Regions from separate parts of the Homo sapiens genome. Here region 2 is linked to region 1. The links are contacts of gene promoters, found by promoter capture Hi-C in human tissues and cell types (Jung and others, 2019). All regions are on one chromosome and are shown on one strand. The core of a region is centred on a gene start or on the middle of the fragment in contact, and the rest is flanking DNA. Distances in the headings are between cores, read along the strand shown.

Region 1 (4,802 bases), core at 1,710-4,209:
GAGATCACACCAGTGCACTCCGGCCTGTGTGACAGAGCAAGATCCTGTCTCAAAAAATAAATAAATAAAAAATAAAAAAAGGAAGAAAGAAAGAAATATTCCAGGGTATGGAACAGCAGTCTTCTTGACTCTGCCATGGGAGTGACAGCCGAGGTCCAGTGGCCCAATGAGGGCAGAAGACATTGGGATGTGAGCCAGGAGGCGCCTCTAACCTGGGCTCTGTCCTCAGGCACTGTGGGACCCCTATGTCCTCCCTTCTGGACAGGGAGGTGGGGAGATGTGTGATTGTGGACTTTTCTAGATGCTGCCTGCCAAGATCACAGGGTGACCTGGCATCCCAGCTCCCACAGAGCCCACACCACCGTGTCTGGCAGGGTTGGGGGAGATCCCACCTCCACTCCCTGAGGCCATATTCTGCAAGGGGGAAGGAGCTGGGTCCTCAAGGTGTTTTGCTCCTGATTCGGTAGCCCCAGTGCCATCTATGAATAAGGTTCAGGGGAGGGGAGAGGGACAGAGACCTCCATCAGGCTGGGGGCACCCTGACCCTGAGCTGAGGGCTTCTCAGATCGGGACCGTGCCTGGCGATGATGCCTCCTGCTCTGACAGGAGGGAGAAAATTACTAGAGAGTGCTCTTTTGTTTTCTGTTCACTCCTTAGAGCCCTGTGAGGCCAGCCAGATGTGGGGAAATGGGGACACCTGGATGAGACCTACCACTTCTCCTGGTCTTCTTTCACCCCAGGCCCCTGCCCCTAGAACAGCCCAGAAGTCCTGACGGGAGGGGGAGGAGCAAGCTGGCCTGAGACAACCCCACAAAGGATCCTGGATGCAGTCACCCACATCAGGCTTCTTAATATTCCCATGGATAATGACAATGACAGTTAACCAGGCACTCACCACGTACCAATAAGTGCTGGCACCCGAGTCCTTGCAATCTAATTTAATCCTACCTTTGCAGAAATACACAATTACCTGAAAAGAATATGAAGGTGTATAGATATAAAAACTGAGGACTGGGAGGAGGACCAGATGGGGTCCAGTACTTACTGTTTTACAGACATAGAAACCGAGGCTCCATTCTCAGCCATCTTCTTCCCTTATGCCCCAGTTTTTAATTCTCATGACATTCCAGAGGGAGTGTCCGTTGGAACACCACCAGAGACACCACACTTGCCACTCATGAAGTGCTCCCTACTTGCAGAACGTCTGCTCCCTGTTCCCCAGTTCCAGCCTCCCAGCCGCCCTACTGTAAGCTGGATCATGTCACAGTTTGCCTCATTTTACAGACAGAAAACCCCCCAAGTCCAAGGGGTGACAAGGCACGCAGACAGGAAGTGACGGCCGCAAAACGAACCCAAGCGTCCACATCCTTCGTCCCTGGTTCTTTCCATGGAGAAACCTGCCTGGGTGACCCCTTCCAATCCAGCTGGCTGGGGCGGTCCTGGAGCTCACCTGGACCTATGCCAGGCGGAATGCCATAAAACCACGCCTTCATGCTGTGTCCATTCTCCAGGAGGCAGGCCCCGGAACATCAGCCCATTTCACAGATGGTGACCCAGAGGGCCACAGGGGGGGAGGGTCTGGGCCAAGTTCCCTGTTGGTCATAGGTGGGGTTCAGACCCAGGTCTCCCAGGCCTCCCCATCAGGGCAGGCTGCAGCTGCCAGGGATTACAATCTGCGCACACCGCCTGTTTCCTGAAAACCATGGGCTCCCTGCAGTCCGTGAAGCTGTGGATGCCCAAGGGGCAGAAAAAGCCCCCCAACCTTTGATGACAGCACACACCTCTAAGGGAGCAAAAAACTAAGGCAGACAAAAAAAAGGGCGTTTTGTCTGGAAGATCATTCTTCCAGACCCCTTGTCCCTTCCCCCAGTACATATGGGGCAGGGGATTCAGATGCAAGATGAACACCCTATTAGCTACCAGAGCCAGCAGCATCTGTGACCTTGGGCAAATCACAGCCCCCTTTGAAGCAGCCCCTTCCCCATAGGAGAGCTTCTTGAACTCGGGGGGACGTGGAGCGAGGCTGGGGGATGGGGTGGGAAGAGCAGGGAAGAGGGTGTAAGACCCCTCTATTTTCAGAGGAGCATCGCTGTGAGAAACGGGGAATAAGAGAGGGCCTTGTTCGCCCGCTCTCTCCATGCCCACCCCCACACCCCCTTTAAACACACAGGTGCCAGACAGCTTTTTCGCAAAAACTAGTTTGCAAACACACTCCGACTTCTGGGAAGCTGCCCAGCTCCACTCCCCCTCTGCGCTCCCAGTACCGGGGCTGGGAGCCGGCCCTCCGGCAGTTGCCTGGGGCAGGGGGTGGGTGTTGAGGGGTGGGAGGAGGGCAGAGGGGAGCGGAGAGGAGCCAGCGCCCGCCGAGAGCCAGGGCGACCTCACGCCTTCAGCAGCTGCGGCAGCGGCGGGTCTCCACCTCCCGTACGCCCTCCAAGCCCCTCGGGGCGGGTGGAAGGGTCCCCAAAGCAGCTGGGCTCGGACCCCCGAGGGCGCCCCCCTCCCCAGGGACCCCGCCCGCCCTTCCCCGCAGTCCGGGAGCCGGCGGGGCGCCCCCGCGTGGCCGGGTCGGAGCTGAGTCACCGAAGCGCCGGAGTCCGGGTTCGCGCTGGCGGCGGGGGCTAGAGCGCCGCAGCCCCCCGAGGCGGAACCCGGGTTCCTTCGGACCCGCAGCTGGATCAAAGAGCCCAGCCCCAAGGCCGAAGTTGGGCACTCACGCCAAGCTGCCCCGCCTGCCCGGGCCCCACTCACCGCAGGTCCCGCGGGCGCCACCGCCCTCACCGCACGGCTGCCGCTGCCCGCGCTCCGAGCCGCCCGGGCATCCCCGGGAGCTGCTCCTGCTCGGCCGGGCCCGCGGGCGCGGGACAGGCTCAGGGCGCTGCCCGCGCGGCCACGGCCCGCTCGCGTGCGCTCCCAGCCGCTCGGGGTCCGGTCCTCCTCCCGGGCCGGGCGGGCGGGCGGCGGCGGCGGCGGCGGCTCGGGCTCCTCCCTCCGGCCGAGGAGGGGAGTGGGGAGGGAAGTGGGAGGCGAGGCGGGAGCTTCCTGGAGGGGCGCGCGCTCTCCCACGGGAGGAGCGGGGGCGCTGTCCCGCCCGCAGTCCGCCGCTCCCAGCCCGCGCCCGGCGCGCCGCGGCACTCGGGGCGCCTGGCACCGAGGGGGCCCGAACGTTCGGGCCGAACGCGAGGGTCCGAAGGTTCCAGGCTGGGACTCAGGTGGCTGAGGATCGGAACAACGCGGCTTCGCGCCCTCCCCAGGCCTGCTTTGCCCGAGCCTCTGGCACCTCCGAGTTCCGAGCGCCGTGCGCTCAGGGCCACCGACGCGGGAACAGAGGGGTGGCCTCAGCCCGGGCCTGCGGGGCCCCAGGGCCGCTTGGACCCCCAGCGCCGATGGGAGCGGCGCTGCGCCCTCGGGGCAACACCCAAGGCTGGGTTCTGGGTTGTATTGGGCAGGATTAGGGCCGCAGTGTTTTCTTCCCTTTTTTTTTTCAATAGCAAAAGAGCTCGGCATTTTCTTGCCGCCAGAGATTGGAAATATGACATATTTCTCTGACACAGACGATAAGATAAAGACGGATCCGAACTGGGCCTGGGTCTACTCATCCGTGCGGAAAATTAGGCGAGTCTTTAAGGCCTTGGAGCCCAGGCCTCCTTTTCCCTAGAAGAGGCACCAATTCTTAGGACACTTGTCTGTCGCTGGGCGCTCAAGCCTTTGGCCACTCCGCGGTATTTAGGTGCTCTCTGGGCAAGTTCACCACCGGGCATCAGAAGGCTGAGCCTCACGTAACCAGATTCTGGGGGGCGGGGCTTTCCCGGGGATCTCAAGGCCATGTCCACAGCCCTTGGCCCTGGGGCTCAAGGACTGGGCAGCTGAGGGTTAATGCCGAGTGCTTCCATTGTGGCTTTTCGATTCCAGGCAGGTGAGGGTTAATGTGGGAGCCTCGCGCGCTGCAGCCTGTGAGCCTCCCTCCACGTCTGAGTCACTGGCACTTTGCAGCCTTACAGGGGCCGAGACTAAACAGCCCCCGGGGCTCTGAGCTTTGTTCTCTGCCTGCCTGTCACCCATCCATCTTTCCTTTCTCCAAGCTCTCTTCACCTTTCTTCCACCGAAGCCAATCAAAGCCCTCTGCCCCGCTCTGGGGCAAACCAACCTATCAACCCAACTCCAGCCCCGCTTCCTCCAGGAAGACTTTCCTGATTGCTCTGGCCTCAGAATCTGTCTCTTGTCTTTCCAGCAGCAGGAGAGCCAGGCACTGGGATGGACAGTGGTGAACCAAAGCAGATAGTCTCTCTCAAGTTGCTCACCTGTGGGGGCCAAGATCAGGACCCAGGCCATCATATCACCATATGAAATGTGCAAAGATTGGAGGTAGGGTGGCACAGAAGACCCAACTCAGCCATGGGAGTCAGCGAGGCTTCCTTTAAGAAACCTGAAGGATGAGATAGTTGGGCCTGTCAAGGAAGATACTAGATCCCTAGCCAAGGAGGCAGAGTACAAAGGCCAGGGGTCACAGCAATTCCACTCCTAGATATCTACCCGGGAGAAATGAAAACATATGGCCACACAAAACATACACAAATGTACGTAGCAGCATTATTCATAATAGCCAAAAAGTGGAAACCACGCAAATGTTCATCCACTGATGAATGGAAAAACAAAATGTGGTATATCCACACAACATAGAATATTATACAGCCATAGAAAGGTACGAATTACTGGCCAGTTGTGGTGGCTCACACCTGTAATCCCAGCACTTTGGGAGGCCAAGGCGGGCGATTACTTGAGGTCGGGAATTCAAGACCAGC
Region 2 (4,802 bases), core at 1,295-3,794, 270 kb before region 1:
ACTTCTGGGAGCCTGGAGAGGATCCAAGACACTTCTGGTGTGAGCATTTTTTTTTTTTTTTTTTTTTTGAGACAGAGTCTCCCTCTGTTGCCCAGGCTGGAGTGAGGTGGAGCGATCTCGGCTCACTGCAACCTCCACCTTCCAGGTTCAAATGATTCTCCTGCCTCAGCCTCCCAAGTAGCTGGGACCACAGGCACGCACCATCACACTCAGCTAATTTTGTATTTTTAGTAGAGATGGGGTTTCACCATGTTGACCAGGCTGATCTTGAACTCCTGACCTCAAGTGATCTGCCTGCCTCGGCCTCCCAAAGTGCTGGGATTACAGGCATGAGCCACCACGCCTGGTTCACCATCCATTTTTGCCCAGAACCTGGGAGCATCTTTGCTGACTCAGTGGCACTAGGTATACTCCTATACCTGCTATACCCAAATACCCTAGATGCCACAGCTACTGACTACCTACTGCCATACCCACACTGTGGTGGCACCCTGTTCACTCAGCTCTGCATCCTCAGAACCTGACATGTTGCCTGGCACCTAGTAAGCGCCTGAGGATATTGGCTAAACGATCACATTATTTTTGTTTGTAGTCCACCCAAGCCTGAACTGAGCCATCTCTTCCAGCCAAGCCATCCTGGCAGGCATCTGGTAGCCCTGCCACATTCCTCTCATCCCTGGGTGTGTCCCACCCACCAGCACCTGGGCCATCCCAGGCTGTACCCGTCAGGCCCACCAAGGCCCTGTGGCCCCAGCTCCCTACTCACACCACGCCAGGCCTCGGGCAGGAGTCTGAGGTCCAGTAGAAGTGTTTCACCACGCGCAGGGGCAGACGGTAACGGACGTAATCACGGCAGCAGACGCTGTCTTCCATGTTGGCGCCGTAGGGGCCTAGGGGAGGGGTCCCCAGTGAATTCACAAGCTGGAGCCCAGAGAGGTCACCCTCGGCCCCAGCCCCTGATCTCGGCCTCTCCAGGCTCCAGGAAAGAGATGCAGTTTTTCTGTTCTCATGTGGAAGGATGGTGACCAGAGGATTCTGAGCCCTCCAAGACCCTACCCTTGGAGCTTCTGAGAAGCCACTTAGGGTCCAATGTCTACACTCTGGGACAGTCAGCTCTAGGAGCGGGGATTCAGAACAACTAAGCATCAGCTGTAGCCTGAGGCCCAATTTCCTCCTCTGACCAAAGGGGTAATAACAGTACCAGCTTCAGAGGGTCTTTAATGCATGAAAAGCACTCAGAAAGCCCAGCAGCTGGGAGCAATTCTTGTTTATAGCTGCCTGACCCCACTCCAGTGCTCACTCCTCCACCCAACACAGCAAAAGTATAGAGTGGGGTGGAGAAGAGGAGTCAGGAATCCATGCTGAGGACAGGTTCTGGACAAAAATGGATAGTGAGCCCAGAGCAGTGGCTCACGCCTGTAATCCTAACACTTAGGGAGGCCAAGATGGGAGTTTCACTTGAGGTCAGGAGTTCGAGACAAGACCGGTCAGCATGGTGAAACCCCATCTTTACTAAAAATACAAAAATTAGCCGGGCATGGTGGCAGGTGCCTGTAATCCCAGCTACTCAGGAGGCTGAGGCAGGAGAATCACTTTAACTCCAGAGGTGGAGGTTGCAGTGAGCTGAGATTGCGCCACTGCACTCCAGCCTGGGCAACAGAGACTCCATCTCAAAAAATAAATAAATAAAATGAAATAAAAAATAAATTTAGGCTAGACGCAGTGGCTCATGCCTGTAATCCCAGCACTTTGGGAGGCTGAGGTGGGAGGATCATCTGAGGTCAGGAGTTTGAGACCAGCCTGGCCAACATGGTGAAACCCTGTCTCCACTAAAAATACAAAAATTAGCCAGGTGTGGTGGTGCATGCCTGTAATCCCAGCTACTCAGGAGGCTGAGGCAGGAGAATCGCTTGAACCTGGGAGGTAGAGGTTGCAGTGGGCCAAGATTGCCCCACTGCACTCCATCCTGGGCAACAAGAGTGAAACTGTGTCTCAAAAAATAAAATAAAATAAAATAAAAAATAATAATAATAACATTTTAAAAAATGGATGGTGGGAGGGCAGCACCAGCTTTCCAAGGGAGAACCCCTTGCCCCAGCCCTGCCTTCCCCCACTCAGACCTGACCCTTAGAAGCTCCTCACCCACACCCCTAGGGCCCTATGCTTGAGTTTTCTGGGGCAGGAGATCCCGAGGCTATGCCCACCACAACCCCCAACCCAGGTGAGACAGATCCTAGACTCCAAGTCTTCAAGACTGCCCATTCAACAGACTTGTAAACTGAGGCCCAGAGAAGCACTGCAACTAGCCGAAGGCCGCAAGAGCCAACAGCAGACTGAGGTCTTCTGCTCTTGGTCCAGTGCTTGTCCAAGACATGAGGAAGACACCCCACCGTCTGCCCTGGCCTCTGTAGGGGGTCTTCCTGCTCCCCAGCCTCACCTGCCTCAGTTGCTTGAAGCGCCACAGCAAGGAGGACGAGGACAACCAGGAGTGCAGTCTGTAGGCGATCCATGCTCTGTCCTGTATGTCTCAGCCCAGGTGTCTGCAAAGGGACATAGGAAGACCTGCTATTTAAGGTGCTGGCTCCACCCACAAGCCTCACTTACTTACCTCTTAGTCACCGGGGTGCCCAGAGTCACTTGACATTCACATCTCAAAAGAAGAACTACCTCCCACTTCCTCCAAAGTGGAGAAATTCTCTTTGGCGGGGAACCACTCAGAGGGGACCCCCCCTCAACTCTGTCCTCGCCTCTGGTTTCAGACAGACTTGTAAAATCCCCCTCTTAGAGGCTTGTGCTCCCCAGGGTCTCTGCACTGTGTGGCCTTGGCCATGTCTGGGTGTCTCTGGGACTTGGTTTCCCCATCTGGAAATGGGGGAGATGGTTTCACAGCTCTGTTGACTTCACTGGTTGTAAATCAAGTGAGAACGTGGACCAACCCTCACCTAGAATTGAGGCCTGTCTTGTACCCTTAATGACGGCATTACTGGTCTCTCTTCAATGGGAGAGGCCTATGGACCCATTGACCCATCTGGGGCTTCTCGTGAAGTCCACATTTGGGCCAGGTCGTGGATTTCTCAACGGTTTATGGAAAGCATCTACCCACACTTCTGTCCTGCCTGATCTTCCTTCCCAGTGGCTGCCGGGCTCTCCCTCCCCCACTCCTGTCTCAGTCCCTCACCATGTCCATGTCCCGTTGATTCTGCTTCCTAAATCTCTCTCAGATCTGCTCCTTCTCTCCAACCCCACTGTTCCTGCCCAGTCCAGGCCACCTCCACCTCAGGCTGGGATGCTGGCCTCCTCAATGCCATCCCCACCCTGCAGCAGCCAGCGTGAGTGGTCCAGAGCTACACACTCTCTCTCCTGCTTCAGAACCCTGCCGTGGCTCCCCATTCACCTAAAGGCAGGTCCCGGGCTCCTGTCTGTGGCCTTCAAGGCCCCGTTTCCGGACAGGCCTTTCCCCACTGGTCTCCTTCCCCTGAGGGATCACACCACACTCCTCACACTTCCTCAAAAGGGACTGCGGCCTGTCCCTGGCCTTTAATGTCACTTTCCACATCTCTACCACATAAACTCCTACTTATGCGTCAAAGCTGTTTGAAATGTCATGTCCTTGGTAAGCACACCCTCTCAGGACTTCAAAGCCTTCTAGGGGACCTGGAATGTGGCCCTGAGCAGACTGGGTCAGGTTTTCTCTTTCTCAAGCCCCTCCCTAGAAGTCAGACTCCAAGCTCTAGGAGGCTGGGGTCTCCCTTCATTTTTCTTGGCATTCCCAGGGCCCTCTGAGGATCAGGCACATGTTGGGTGCTCAGAACACATGGGCTGGGTGCAGTGATTCATGACTGTAATCCCAGCACTTTGGAAGGCCCAGGCAGGTGGATCACCTGAGGTCAGGAGTTCAAGACCAGCCTGGCCAACATGGAGAAACCCCATCTCTACCAAAAATACAAAAATTGGCCGGGTGTGATGGCATGCGCCTGTAATCCCAGCTACTTGGGGGGCTGAGAGGCAGGAGAATCGCTTGAATCCGGTGAGAGGCAGAGGTTGCAGTGAGCCAAGATTGCGCCACTGCACTCTAGCCTGGGTGAGAGAATGAGAGTCCATCTCAAAAAAAAAAAAAAAAAAAAAAAGAAAGAAAGAAAGAAAAAAAAGAACACATCTAATGAAGGAGGAAACTGAGGTTCAGAGAGAGAGGACTTGCCCAGTTCACACAGCCACACAGAGGCTACGCCAGGCCTGGAACTCAGAACTTGGGACTCCATGTATAAAGGGACCCATCCATTCATCCAATTCCTTCATTCAGCAAACATTTATTGAACGCTGTGGTAAACAGAATAATGGCCCCCCTAAATGTCCACATTCTAATCCCCAAAACCTATGAATATGTTACCTTACATGGTAAAAAGGACTTTGCAGATGTGACTGTTTAGGGTTTAGGATTTTTGTTGTTGTTGTCGTTGTTTTAGAGGCAGGATCTCACTCTGTCACACAGGCCGGAGTGCAGTGGTGCAATCACAGCTCACTGCAGCCTTGACCTCCTGGGCTCAAGCGATCCTACTGCCTCAGCCTCTCAAGTAGCTGGGACTACAGGTGTGTGCCACCACGCCCTGCTCATTTTTATTTCTTGTAGAGATGGGGATCTCACTATGTTGCCAGGGCTGGTCTTGAACTCCTGGCCTCAAGCAATCCTCCTATCTTGGCCTCTTGAAGTGCTAGGATTATGGGTGTGAGCCACCATACCTGACCTAGGATCTTTAAAGAGGGAGATTTATTGGATTATCTAGACAGGCCCAAGGCAATCACAG

The links. Contacts are between HindIII fragments. The study calls those that stand out against the background at their distance.
Region 2: a contact is called between the fragment with the promoter of CCL22 here and the fragment with the promoter of CPNE2 in region 1, in 1 of the 25 tissues and cell types used here (heart left ventricle).

What each region holds. Positions count from the first base shown.
Region 1 is chr16:57,090,740-57,095,541 of GRCh38, reverse strand. CPNE2 (copine 2) reads right to left here and starts at 2,959. Exons shown (of 16, transcript NM_152727.6): 1 at 2,752-2,959. RefSeq lists silencers at 2,468-2,877, 2,938-2,987, 3,098-3,347, 3,368-3,437. The HindIII fragment of the contact is 24,624 bases long and covers 1-4,802 here.
Region 2 is chr16:57,356,525-57,361,326 of GRCh38, reverse strand. CCL22 (C-C motif chemokine ligand 22) reads right to left here and starts at 2,544. Exons shown (of 3, transcript NM_002990.5): 1 at 2,438-2,544; 2 at 767-890. The coding sequence starts at 2,510. The HindIII fragment of the contact is 38,120 bases long and covers 1-4,802 here.